Linked DNA regions of Homo sapiens: region 1 is linked to region 2. Evidence: promoter capture Hi-C in 16 types of primary human blood cells and fetal thymus (Javierre and others, 2016). All regions are on one chromosome and are shown on one strand. The core of a region is centred on a gene start or on the middle of the fragment in contact, and the rest is flanking DNA. Distances in the headings are between cores, read along the strand shown.

Evidence for each region. The method cuts DNA at HindIII sites, captures the fragments that hold promoters and counts their contacts. A CHiCAGO score of 5 or more calls a contact.
Region 1: a contact is called between a fragment that was not itself captured here and the fragment with the promoter of ELMO1-AS1 in region 2, in 1 of 17 cell types (M1 macrophages). The highest score is 5.4, in M1 macrophages.

What each region holds. Positions count from the first base shown.
Region 1 is chr7:36,481,524-36,486,912 of GRCh38, reverse strand. No RefSeq gene overlaps it. Among named protein-coding and RNA genes, the nearest start is that of ANLN, 94 kb to the right of the region's middle. The HindIII fragment of the contact is 4,800 bases long and covers 845-5,389 here.
Region 2 is chr7:36,996,483-37,001,970 of GRCh38, reverse strand. It overlaps ELMO1-AS1 (ELMO1 antisense RNA 1), which reads right to left and starts at 4,175. Exons shown (of 3, transcript NR_104120.1): 1 at 4,039-4,175. All of the region lies in intron 16 of ELMO1 (engulfment and cell motility 1), which reads left to right. The HindIII fragment of the contact is 6,356 bases long and covers 2,084-5,488 here.

The DNA of each region.
Region 1 (5,389 bases), core at 1,995-4,494, 510 kb after region 2:
TATATAAATATATATAAATATATATATATAAATATATATATATATAAATATATAAATATATATATATATAAATATATATATATATGCCCTTTTATCTAATGCAATCAATTATATATATATATAATTAGGTTCCCAACAGTCAATACTTTTAATTTTTTCACTCTTCCTCAGAAAATTTTACATAACATTTAAATGTATTAAATAAATAATAAAGACACAAATATTTTGATTAATCATTCTTCGCCTTCGGCCTAGATATGAAAATCAGGGAGACTGAAAAACTGTGGCAATTGTGGAAATAAACAAAGATTACCCAAAGGAGAACAGAGAAGGACTATTTATTCAGAACTTGCTCTAGCAAGGGAGTCAGCTACTGTCACTCGAATTTGGCAGAGACTCAAAGGCAGGCAGAGGAAGGCTTTATAGCAGGGAAAAAAATGGGGAATGCTCCAGTGTGCCCTGATTAGAGGCTGTTGGCATGGGGAAGCTGGAGGTGGTTAGGAAGAAGCAGGGCATCCTATGTGATTGGTTAGGGAAACATATTTGGCTTTCTCTGGTTGGTCTTAAGTTGGACACGGACAAAAACTATGGAAGCTGTCCATTAGTAATTAAGTGACCTCTCAGGGTTAGGGATCTTGGTTATCCTTCCATCCAGGAAAGAGGCCCACACAGCCCCAGAAGCAGACTCCAGCCATTTGGGTGGGGAATTCTGAGGACCAGATACCTGCACATGGTCCAGAAAGGGAAACGCAGGCCCTGGGTGGTCATGTCCCCTTGGCCTTGCAGAGGAGGTGCAAGGTTGGAGATGGGCTGGAGGAGGGGGGCAGGGAGGCAGTCCAAAGCTTGGAGCCCAAGGGAGGGGCCCTGTTGTCTGAGAAGCCACTGTCCTGAGCCTTTGTAAAAACACGAATCTCCCATGATGCTCTTTTCCACTTCCTAACAGCCTCTTATCTGCAGATCCTGGAGTGAGACTTTGAATTCTCCTTTGGCTAAGAGAGTTGTCTCTCACCACCAAAGGCTTACTCAGGGAAAGAATAAAAATTATTACAGGTAACCCTCCAGGCAGGGTCCAAATTTATATTCTCAGTAATTTTAGCAATAGTCACAAAACTTTATTTACATAAATCCATAACAAAAAGTAAAATTAATGTCCCAATTTCAAATATTCTGTCTCACTGGTAAACCAGTTTTCTGGACTTCTAGTTCCAGGAATATGATCACTGTGTGTGTTTGTATTGGCCATCAGGAATAGGTCTGGGATCTTCTTATGCCTTAAGACAAATGGAGGTTATAAACTATTTATGTTAAAAGAGAGAGGGAGGGAGGGAAGGAAAAAGGGATGGAGTCCTATCCGAGAGTCCTTGGTTATTTACCTTTTATAAATTAATTCCCACTAGCCAGTGTGTCAAGGTCAGCAATGACAATATCTTCCAACCCTGATATGTTCTGCATTTGAAACATGTCAAGAGTCGCTTGAGATGACTTACCTATTTTGTTGTCAAACCTATTGCTTAACTTTTCAGCTATTCTTGCCACTGCTCTGAGACAAACAGTGGAATTCAAGAGTTAGTTTTATGACCAGGCTTAAGAGTTTTTCTAAAACACTTCCAGCCAGTGAGCTCAAAACATTCCTTTTCTTAAAAACAGAATTTATTGTACACAACCTTACTGTGACAGGAGAAAGTGTTAAAATTAAAATTCAGAAGAAGCCCTTTTATCTAATGCAATCAATTAATTGAAAAAGTCACATCAAGTGAGAAAGCAAAATAAGAGATTGCATACACACACAGCTCAAATATTCCTTTTTATTCATCACATGTATTGTAAGCACAGCCCTTTTCTTTAAGCAGGAGTCTGTAGAATGAATTATATAACCTCTTCCTTATGTAAACAAACAATGTGCACTGTCCAGGTCTCTAAAGAGAACTAAATTTAAAGAAACTGATGAAGTAATCTCAGAGCATTGTTCTTCTAGATTTCTACTCTTTTTCCCTTTTGTACTTAATATGGCCGCAGTTTCTTTTTTTTAATTTATTTTTATTTTTTGAGACGGAGTCTCACCCTGTCACCCAGGCTGGAGTGCAGTGGCGCAACCTCAGCTCGCTGCAACCTCCACCTCCCGGGTTCAAGCGATTCTCCTGCCTCAGCCTCCCGAGTAGCTGAGACTACAAGTGCGTGCCACAACACCCAGCTAATTTTTGTATTTTTAGTAGAGATGGGGTTTCACCAGGATGGTCTCGATCTCTTGAACTCATGATCTGCCCGCCTTGGCCTCCCAAAGTGCTGAGATTACAGGCGTGAGCCACTGCGCTCGGCAGTTAATCTTTATAGAATCTCTGAGTTATTGTTTAAAAATTTCATTTTCACACTTTCAGTTTATATAATGTTTAACTATGACATTTACAGTATGTCATTTACAACTGGTACGATCACGTTTGGGAGCAAACACTATTGACTCTTCTGACATTTGCTTGTAGAAACAGAAATGCACACACCTGTTAGGGAGCATTCCACTAGCCTCTGATGGTTACCAAAGAATTTTACCAAGGGAATGAGCAAATTAATATAGTGATATAGTTAAGTGGGACTTACAGTCTATTTATGATGAATGCATATGTCCACGCATGCGTTCACATGCACACACACACACACACACACACACACACACACACACACACACTCCCTGACTTCTCAGGAATGTGCATCTTGAGGGAGATCCTTTAGTTTTGTTGAGAAGGGATGTTAACAACGATGCAAATGAATGAAGCCAGGAAGGATAGAGTGGAACTGGACCAAGATGGAACTGGACCAAGATGCCAGACTAGAAGCAGCTCATGTGCACCACTCTCACAGAAAGGAAACAAAAGGGCTAGTGAACACTGACCCTGCAGGCCAGTCATCTGAAAAACTACACTGTGGTCGGGTGCAGTGGCTCATGACTATAATCCCAGCACTTTGGGAGGCCGAGGTGGGCAGATTGCCTGAGGTCAGGAGTTTGAGACCAACCTGGCTAACATGGTGAAACCCCGTCTCTACTGAAAATACAAAAATTAGCTGGGCTTGGGTGGCACATGCCTGTAGTCCCAGCTACTCGGGAGGCTGAGGCAGGAGAATTGCTTCAACCCATGAGGCAGAGGTTGCAGTGAGCCAAGATGGTGCCACTGCACTCCAGCCTGCACAACAAAGCAAGACTCCATCTAAACACACACACACACACACACACACACACACACACACACACACACACATTGGGATCCATCAAGGTAGCCAAGAAACATAGAGAGCAGAACTGGGCACCAGCCTGTCTGGGCTCAGTGCAGAGCCAGGAGAATCTCTCCAATACCAGAAAGGATGAGTGAGTGAGAGCCCCCTGAGGGATTCACACTTTCCACGAGGACCTGTGCAAAACTGAGAATGGGAGAATTCTCCTGGCCTTCCCACACCCCCCACTGCACTTCAAGACTAAGGCAGAGAACCACCTGGACATTTCGCAGGGGCAACTCTTGAGTCCAAGGGGACCTCTCCAGGCCTGAGACCCCAGAGCAGACCAGTACCAGTGCCATAGCCTCAATAGAGACCACAGTCATGGTGCCTGGGAGCAGTAAGATTGCTCTACCTGCCCCTCGCCAGATGGAGCTTGGCACCAGCTTCTGGCCCAACAGTCCCACTTCTGTGCAAACTCAGCTGACAGCTACAGCCTCCTGTTATCCTGGGAATCACCTGGATGACAGGGTAGGCAACCTTACCCACCCCTACCACTGATAGCCAGGTAAGCAATGCCTGCTAGAGCTTCCAGCCCAGCAGTCCGACTTCTGTCTGAATTCAGCCAGCAGGTGCAGCCTCCCACTGTCCTGGGAAATGCCCAAGTGGCAGGATGGGTGACCCCACCCACCCCCTGGCTGCTGGTAGCCAGGTGGGCAACACCTGCTAGAATTTCCAGCCCAGTGGTCCCACTTCTGTCTGAACTTAGCTGGCAGATACAGCCTCCTGTCGTCCTAGGAAGAACACCCAAATGGCAGAGTAGGTGACTCCACCCATCCCTGCCTCTCATAGCCAGGCCAGCCAGGCCTGCTAGAGCTTCAAGCCCAGTAGTCCTGCTTCTGCCTGAACTCTGTGGGCAGGCACAACCCTGTCTTCTCCCAGCCAGAAAGCACTCAGACAGCAAATTAAGGCCAACCCAGAAAGCATACAGCCAGCTGGCCAACTGTGGCCCCTGCCTGAGGGAGCCCCATGTACCAGAACACCCAACAACAAAACGTGGATATAGAGACAGTAATCAGAAGGGGCTCCTCCAAGATCCAAGAGTGGACTAGAATCAAAGCAAGTTGACTAAACCCACCTTATACCATAATCAAACCCCCAAGGGCATCAAAGGAGATAAAAGAAAAAAAACACACATAAAGACAGCAACTTCAAAGATTAAAGGAACATCACCCCACACGGATGAGAAAGAACCAGTGCAAGAAGTCTGGCAACTCAAAAAGCCAGAGTTCTTTTTGTTTCCAAATAACAACACTAGTTCCCCAGCAATGGTTCTTAACCAGGCTGAAATGGCTGAAATGCCAGAAATAGAATTCAGAATATAGATAGAAATGAAAATCATCAACATTCAGGAGAAAGTCAAAACCCAATCCAAGGACTGTGAGAAATACAGGAAGACAATACAGGAGATAAAAGACAAAATGGCTATTTTAAGAAAGAACCAAACTGAACTGATAGAGCTGAAAAACTCACTTCAAGGACTTCATAACAGAATCACAAGTATTAACAGCAGAATCGACCAAGCTGAGGAAAGAATCTCAGAGCTGGCTGGGCATGGTGGCTCATACCATAATTCCAGCACTTTGGGAGGCCAAGGCTGGTGGGCTGGTTGAATCCAGGAGTTTGAGACCGGACTGAGCAACATGGTGAAACCCCGTCTCTACTAAACATACAAAAATTAGCTGGGCATGGTGGCATGCACCTATAATTCCAGCTACTCAGAAGGCTGAGATACAACCCTTGCTTGAACCCAGGAGACAGAGTTGCAGTGAGCTGAGATTGTGCCGCTGTCCTCCAGCCTGGGCTACAGAGTGAGACTTTGTCTCAAAAAAAAAAAAAAAAAAAAAAAAAAAAAATCTTGAAATCTCAGAGCTCAAAGACTGGTTCTTTGAAATAACTCAGTCAGACAAAAATTTTTAAGAAACAATAAAGAATAATGAAAACCTCCATGAAATATGAGATTATGTAAAGAGACACATCTATGACTTACTGGCATCCATGAAAGAGAGGGAGAAAAAACAGGCAATTTGGAAAACATATTTGAGGGTATCATCCATGAAAATTTCCCCAACCTCACTAAAGAGGCCAACATTCAAATACAGGAAATGCAGAGAAGCCCTGTGAGATT
Region 2 (5,488 bases), core at 2,926-5,425:
TCCCAGCTTGGAAACCTTTCCATTTTCCGAATCTCCTCCAACACAGATCTGACCATATCATTCTTGCTTTTAAAACTTCTGTGGCTGTTCATTGCCTGACTCATTAAATTTTGTGGCCTCAGCAAGATGTTCAGATTTATCTTTAATTCACCTAAAGTAATTTTTCTGCTTTATCTCCATATCTTCACCCTGCACCTACCCTAGGCTCTACCTGAACTGCTCTTGTACGTGCAATTGCATTTTCATGTCTCATTCCCTCTACCAGAAACGTCTTCCCCCATTTACCTGTTGAAATTTCACTTATCCTTTAGGATTTTGCACAAGTGCCACCTTAGCAAGATAGTTACCATCTCCCTTTTATTTATTCAGAATGAAATTTTGTATGTCTACTCCCACAGCATGGAATTCAAAATTTTTTGGAAAATATCTTCTAGTTCTATAGCAGTTGTTTATTTTTAAGTCTGTCTTCCCAAATAAATCATATATTTCAATATATCATTGGAAGCAAGAGCTAGATTTTATGTCTTAATATCCTCCAGGTGCTTTTAAGTAGTATCTGCTCAAATACTTTGTGTTGAGTGTTGAATTAATTAATGGCCAGAAATGTTTAATTCAATGATCATTAAAAATGGTCCACCTGACCAGTAAGCTGAATTCATATACACCGTCTTAATATGGGGTGGCCACCGTTGTTCAATTCCTGAAGGCCATGGGTATTTTGAAATTCCACACAATAAAGAATTTTCTTGCCCCAAATGCCAACAGGCCTTATTGAGAAACACTTCTAGACCCCTCCATCAGAATCTCTTCAGATGCTAATACTCTGAGGAAGTTATGAAATGATTTTGCCATCTGTTTCTTAATAAAAATGGCAGTTGTCATTATTTTTCTGCCTATGTAGCTTTATATAAGGTGAATAGAAAGCTTCAAAGACATTGAACTTTTGCAAAAGAAACTGAATTGTTCTTTTTCCAAGAAGATTGGTTGGAACTCCTTGTTAAAAAACGTGTGTGTGTGTGTGTGTGTGTGTGTATACACATATACATATATATATGTATATATCCCTCTGTTTCATTTTCACCTTCACTCATTTATTATATTGCCCTTAAGCCTGCTTAACCCACATACCCTGGCCATTCCAGGAGCACTGTTTTTCCCACTAGCCTTGTTTCCAGGCCAGTGGGAAAAATAACATCAGTAATGGCGCTTGTTCTTTCCCAGGATGGCTGCCGAGAGACCTTCCAGTGCAAAGGACAAATGTGACTGTCAACCTTCCATCCCATGTAGGGGACTGGTACTTAGCCAAGCATGCCTAGGAAATACGTGCTTGTGCAGCAGGAATGTTGAATCACATGTGTGAACACATCATGCCGTTCACAAAAATTATCTTTTGTATTTTACCTTTACCTCCCGAAGTTATCTTAAATTGGGGGGAAAAAATGCATCCCCCTTAGAATGTCATAAGAGTGGGAAGACCCAGTTCTTGCCACAGTGAGAGTTTTAAGTGCTGGAGGCAATCAGCTCCCCAGAACTCTTCTGGTCCTATTTTCCTTCTTTCTCTTTCACATATTTGTTTGCGTGGCTTGGCTGGATCCGAGGTGTATGGCATATGGCTTTTTGCCGCTTGAGCTGCCACAGAAGTAAATGTCATTGGCATATAATGCCAGATTTCCATTTTGTGAATCACAGAGCACGGGATTCTGTCCGAAAGCTCCCTGGCCACTATGTGTTCTTAAAGCAGAAGTAGAAAAGGAAAAGACCCACGCATCACACAGAGATGCTTTTCCTATTAAAATGTATTTATTGCCACAACAAGTATATATAAAATGGACATACTTTTGCCCCAACGTGTGTTTGAAAAAGGTTCTTGGCTTGTTTTATTGTGGTTTTGGCACTGGGCAAGCCTGGACATTTGCTTCCAAGCCTCAGCTGAGCAGATGCTGGTCGGTCAGGGAATCAGATGAATAAAAATTTGCTTGTGCATGTACCAGAAAAAAAAGGCTGTGAGTAAAAGATAATCAATGTTTTTTGGATGCAGTTTACCAGAATTTTTTATTCATTAAATTTTCAAGTTATAAAAGCTTTTAGGCTGATAATGGAGACCTGAAGCTGCCACAGATGCAGCCTCAGCCTTTGCTCCCCTGCATGGCTGAGAAATCAAGAGAGAGATTTGCAGATTCAAACACACACACACACACAAAGATGACATGGAGCCATATGCAACTGCCAGTATTGGACTGTTTTTGTCTGACAAATACAGCAATTTCAAATGGCTCAACCAAAAATTATTGTACATTCGTGGAATCAGTTGTATTTACCCATAAGCATTTACTGTTGGTTTCTGACACAGTCTTCTTCTATTATTCACAGTACCTATTTCTCTTTCTTTATTCTGTGATCATTTAACTCACCATAATAAGTTGTAGTAAAGTCTAAGTCAGGAGCATTGGCCCTGGACCCAAGGAGTGGGATTCACACCCTAGCTCCTTCGTTTCCTTGCTGGGTGAGCTTGAGCAGGTTAATTGCCCTGCCCTGTATCCCGGTCTCTTCGTCTAGAGACTGATCGTCATGGAGTTGTTTTGAGGATGAAATGAACCAAGATTAGGTGGAACCACATGAAATGGCCAATATTGGACCACGTCTGAATGGCAAAATTTGTAGTTCTGTTCTGCTCATCTTAATCAATGAAAAGCATTTGGGGCCATTCCCATGAGGGAAATGACACGAAGATCACACAGCACACATGGCGCTCCAGATGAGGCATGGAGAGGCATGGATTCTAGTCCAGCTCTGCCTGTGACCTCCTGCGTGACCCGGGGCTTTTCTCCTATCCTGCACTCACCACCCTCCCTCCTAGACAATGCTGTGGCCCCGGGGATGGCCTCCTTCTGTGCTTTGAATTTCATCCCCTCTCACCTGCTCTGGGGCTCTGTCCGTTATCATTTCTAATCTTTGCATCATTAGTCTCTTCCTCTCACATGCTGTCTTCTCACCAGAATATAAACACACACAAATCTCCCACATTCTTAATAATAAATAAATGATTTTCTCAACCCCCTATTCACCTGTGCCCCTGCAGCTCGGTTTCTGAAGTCATTGCCTCAGTTTCCCAGCTCGCCTTTTCATGTATTAATCCACTGCAGCCTGCCTTCTGCCCACACCGAGAATATAACTGAGCAAAAGAAGAGAAATAGGACTCTAAAAAGCACTAAAATATAGTGTCAGTCCTTGAAAACCTCTTTAGCCACAAAAGTCACTGATTTTGACAAAGAATGGCCTCCGGTGGACAGTTTTAAATCTCAATCTTGTTTGCCACCTTTGTAGCCCTTGACCCTGTGAACCACTCTCTCCTTAAAAATTTTTTTTACTGTGACTTTGGAAATGAACATACATGCAAGATAGATATAGATATACAGATATAGATACAGACATATATATATTTATATATGTATACAATGCACCTAAGATATATGTACAAATGGCACATTGAATATACGTGGAAGAAATAAAATAACTATTATTGTTCCAGTTACTAGCAACATTTTTAGAAAAAAAATTAAAGGATAACTAAAAATATAACTGAGCTCAAGAGAAGAAATACGACTCCAAAGTGCATTAATATATATTTTGAATACTTGAAAACCTCTGTAGCCACAAAAGACATGATTTCTAAGAGGCAAGTGGGAATTGAGAGGAGTCGTTGAGTTGTTCTAAATTTAAGACTGGAAAGAAGTCACATTGTTCTGAATCCCTGCTCTGATGAAGAAGAGAGACATCAAAAAATTTATAAAAATACATCTTTTATCCCTTACACCTTCATGCTATTCGCATCCTCCCCCACCCCCATCTCTTCTCTTCAGCCTAAAAATATACCAAAATCATTCCTTTCCTTAAACAATATTTTCCAACCCTGTTCCTCTTTCAAGTTCTTATCCAATCTCTGTCCGTCTCTGCACTGCCAAATTTTCCGGGAGAGAATGACATCTCCACTTTCCCACCTCCTCACCTCGACGTGGTCTGATGTTCACCCACACCCACCTGCTGCAATTGCTTCATTTAGCTCAAGGTCATCTTCTGATTGTTCTTGTTCATCCTGTTCCCTGGCTCTGAGGCATTGACTTGTGTTGCCTCCTGTGCTTCCTGGGATCCTCTCCATTCCTCATTCCCATGGCACTGACCCCTTTAGCACAGGCATTCCCTGAGGCCCTCCTCTTTTCCTCTCCTACCACTGCCTCCTCCCCACCTTCAACCAGCACCTGAGGCAGACAGAATTCCACCCTCATCGTCTTCTGAGCTCCACCCCTGTGGATGGTCTGCAGACTCCTCAAACTCGGGATGTCCAAAGCTAAACTCTCCATTCTCATGGCTCCGTTCCTGCTGCTGCTTCTGTGGGCTCTAACTCCAGGAGTGACACCACAATCACCCCATATCTTGGACTTGAAATCCAGGAGAGATCTCTGGCTTCCCTACCTTTTCTCTCTAGTAGGTCCCCAAGTCCTACTGATTCACCACTCTATGAGAAGGGCCACCTGCCTTTTAATGCTGTGACTCCACTTTCCTGCACCATTATCTCAGCCCCAGTCTCTGTGCAGGAACACATGCCAGCATGAAAAATCAATTGGCTTTTGTCAGGCCATAAATACCACCAAAAGAAAATCTAAAGGTGTTGTTAAGACAGAAAAAAACAAAATCATTTTCCTTCTCTCCTGGAAATAGCTTAAATTTTTTTTCTGGTCTTAAAAGAAATCATTCCTCTCAAGAATCACTTTCTCCTGTCATAGCTTAGCCACCCTGTGCCTTTCACTTATGGACTCAGTTTGTTCTGTATCCTGCCTTCCCGCCACCATCATCTCTTGTGTAGACGATGTGTTTGTTTTTTAATTGGTCTTCCTAAATCTGGACTTGACCCAAGCCTAAGTTCTCTCTCCCCTAGCTGCCAGAAACACCTTTCTAGGACACAGCTCTTCTCATGAGACATCTGTCTTCAAAAACCTCTGGCTCTCTCTTCTTCCAGCAGGATAGAAAAACTCCACATTCTGTCCTAAACCACTCTTCCAAACAACATGTCTATTACGTCTAGCAGCACACCTCCTACTAACCTATCGTTAGTCATACTGAGTGCCCAGCATGCCTTGCACTTCCCAGTATCTGTCCCTGATTGTGTTCCCTCAGCAAGGAGGAACCTTCACTCTTTCCGGTGAAAAATCTGCCTGTCCTTCAAGGCCCAACTCATGGGCCCTGCAAAGTCCCTCCATGGGGACAGGAGGAATTTTCCCTCTTATGTTCACTTTTCTTCCCCTCTCTTGTAGCACTTAACTTACTCAGCTATATGCTAAGTTCGGAAACTTATTTTAGCCAATTATCTTTGATTTAAATGGGTTCCCATTCATTCTCTGTCCCACCTCATGGCTACCTTGAGGCAATGCTGCAGAATTCCAAAGGCTTGAAAATCATATCTACTCTCTCTGTTTCTTGACTCTACCCCTAA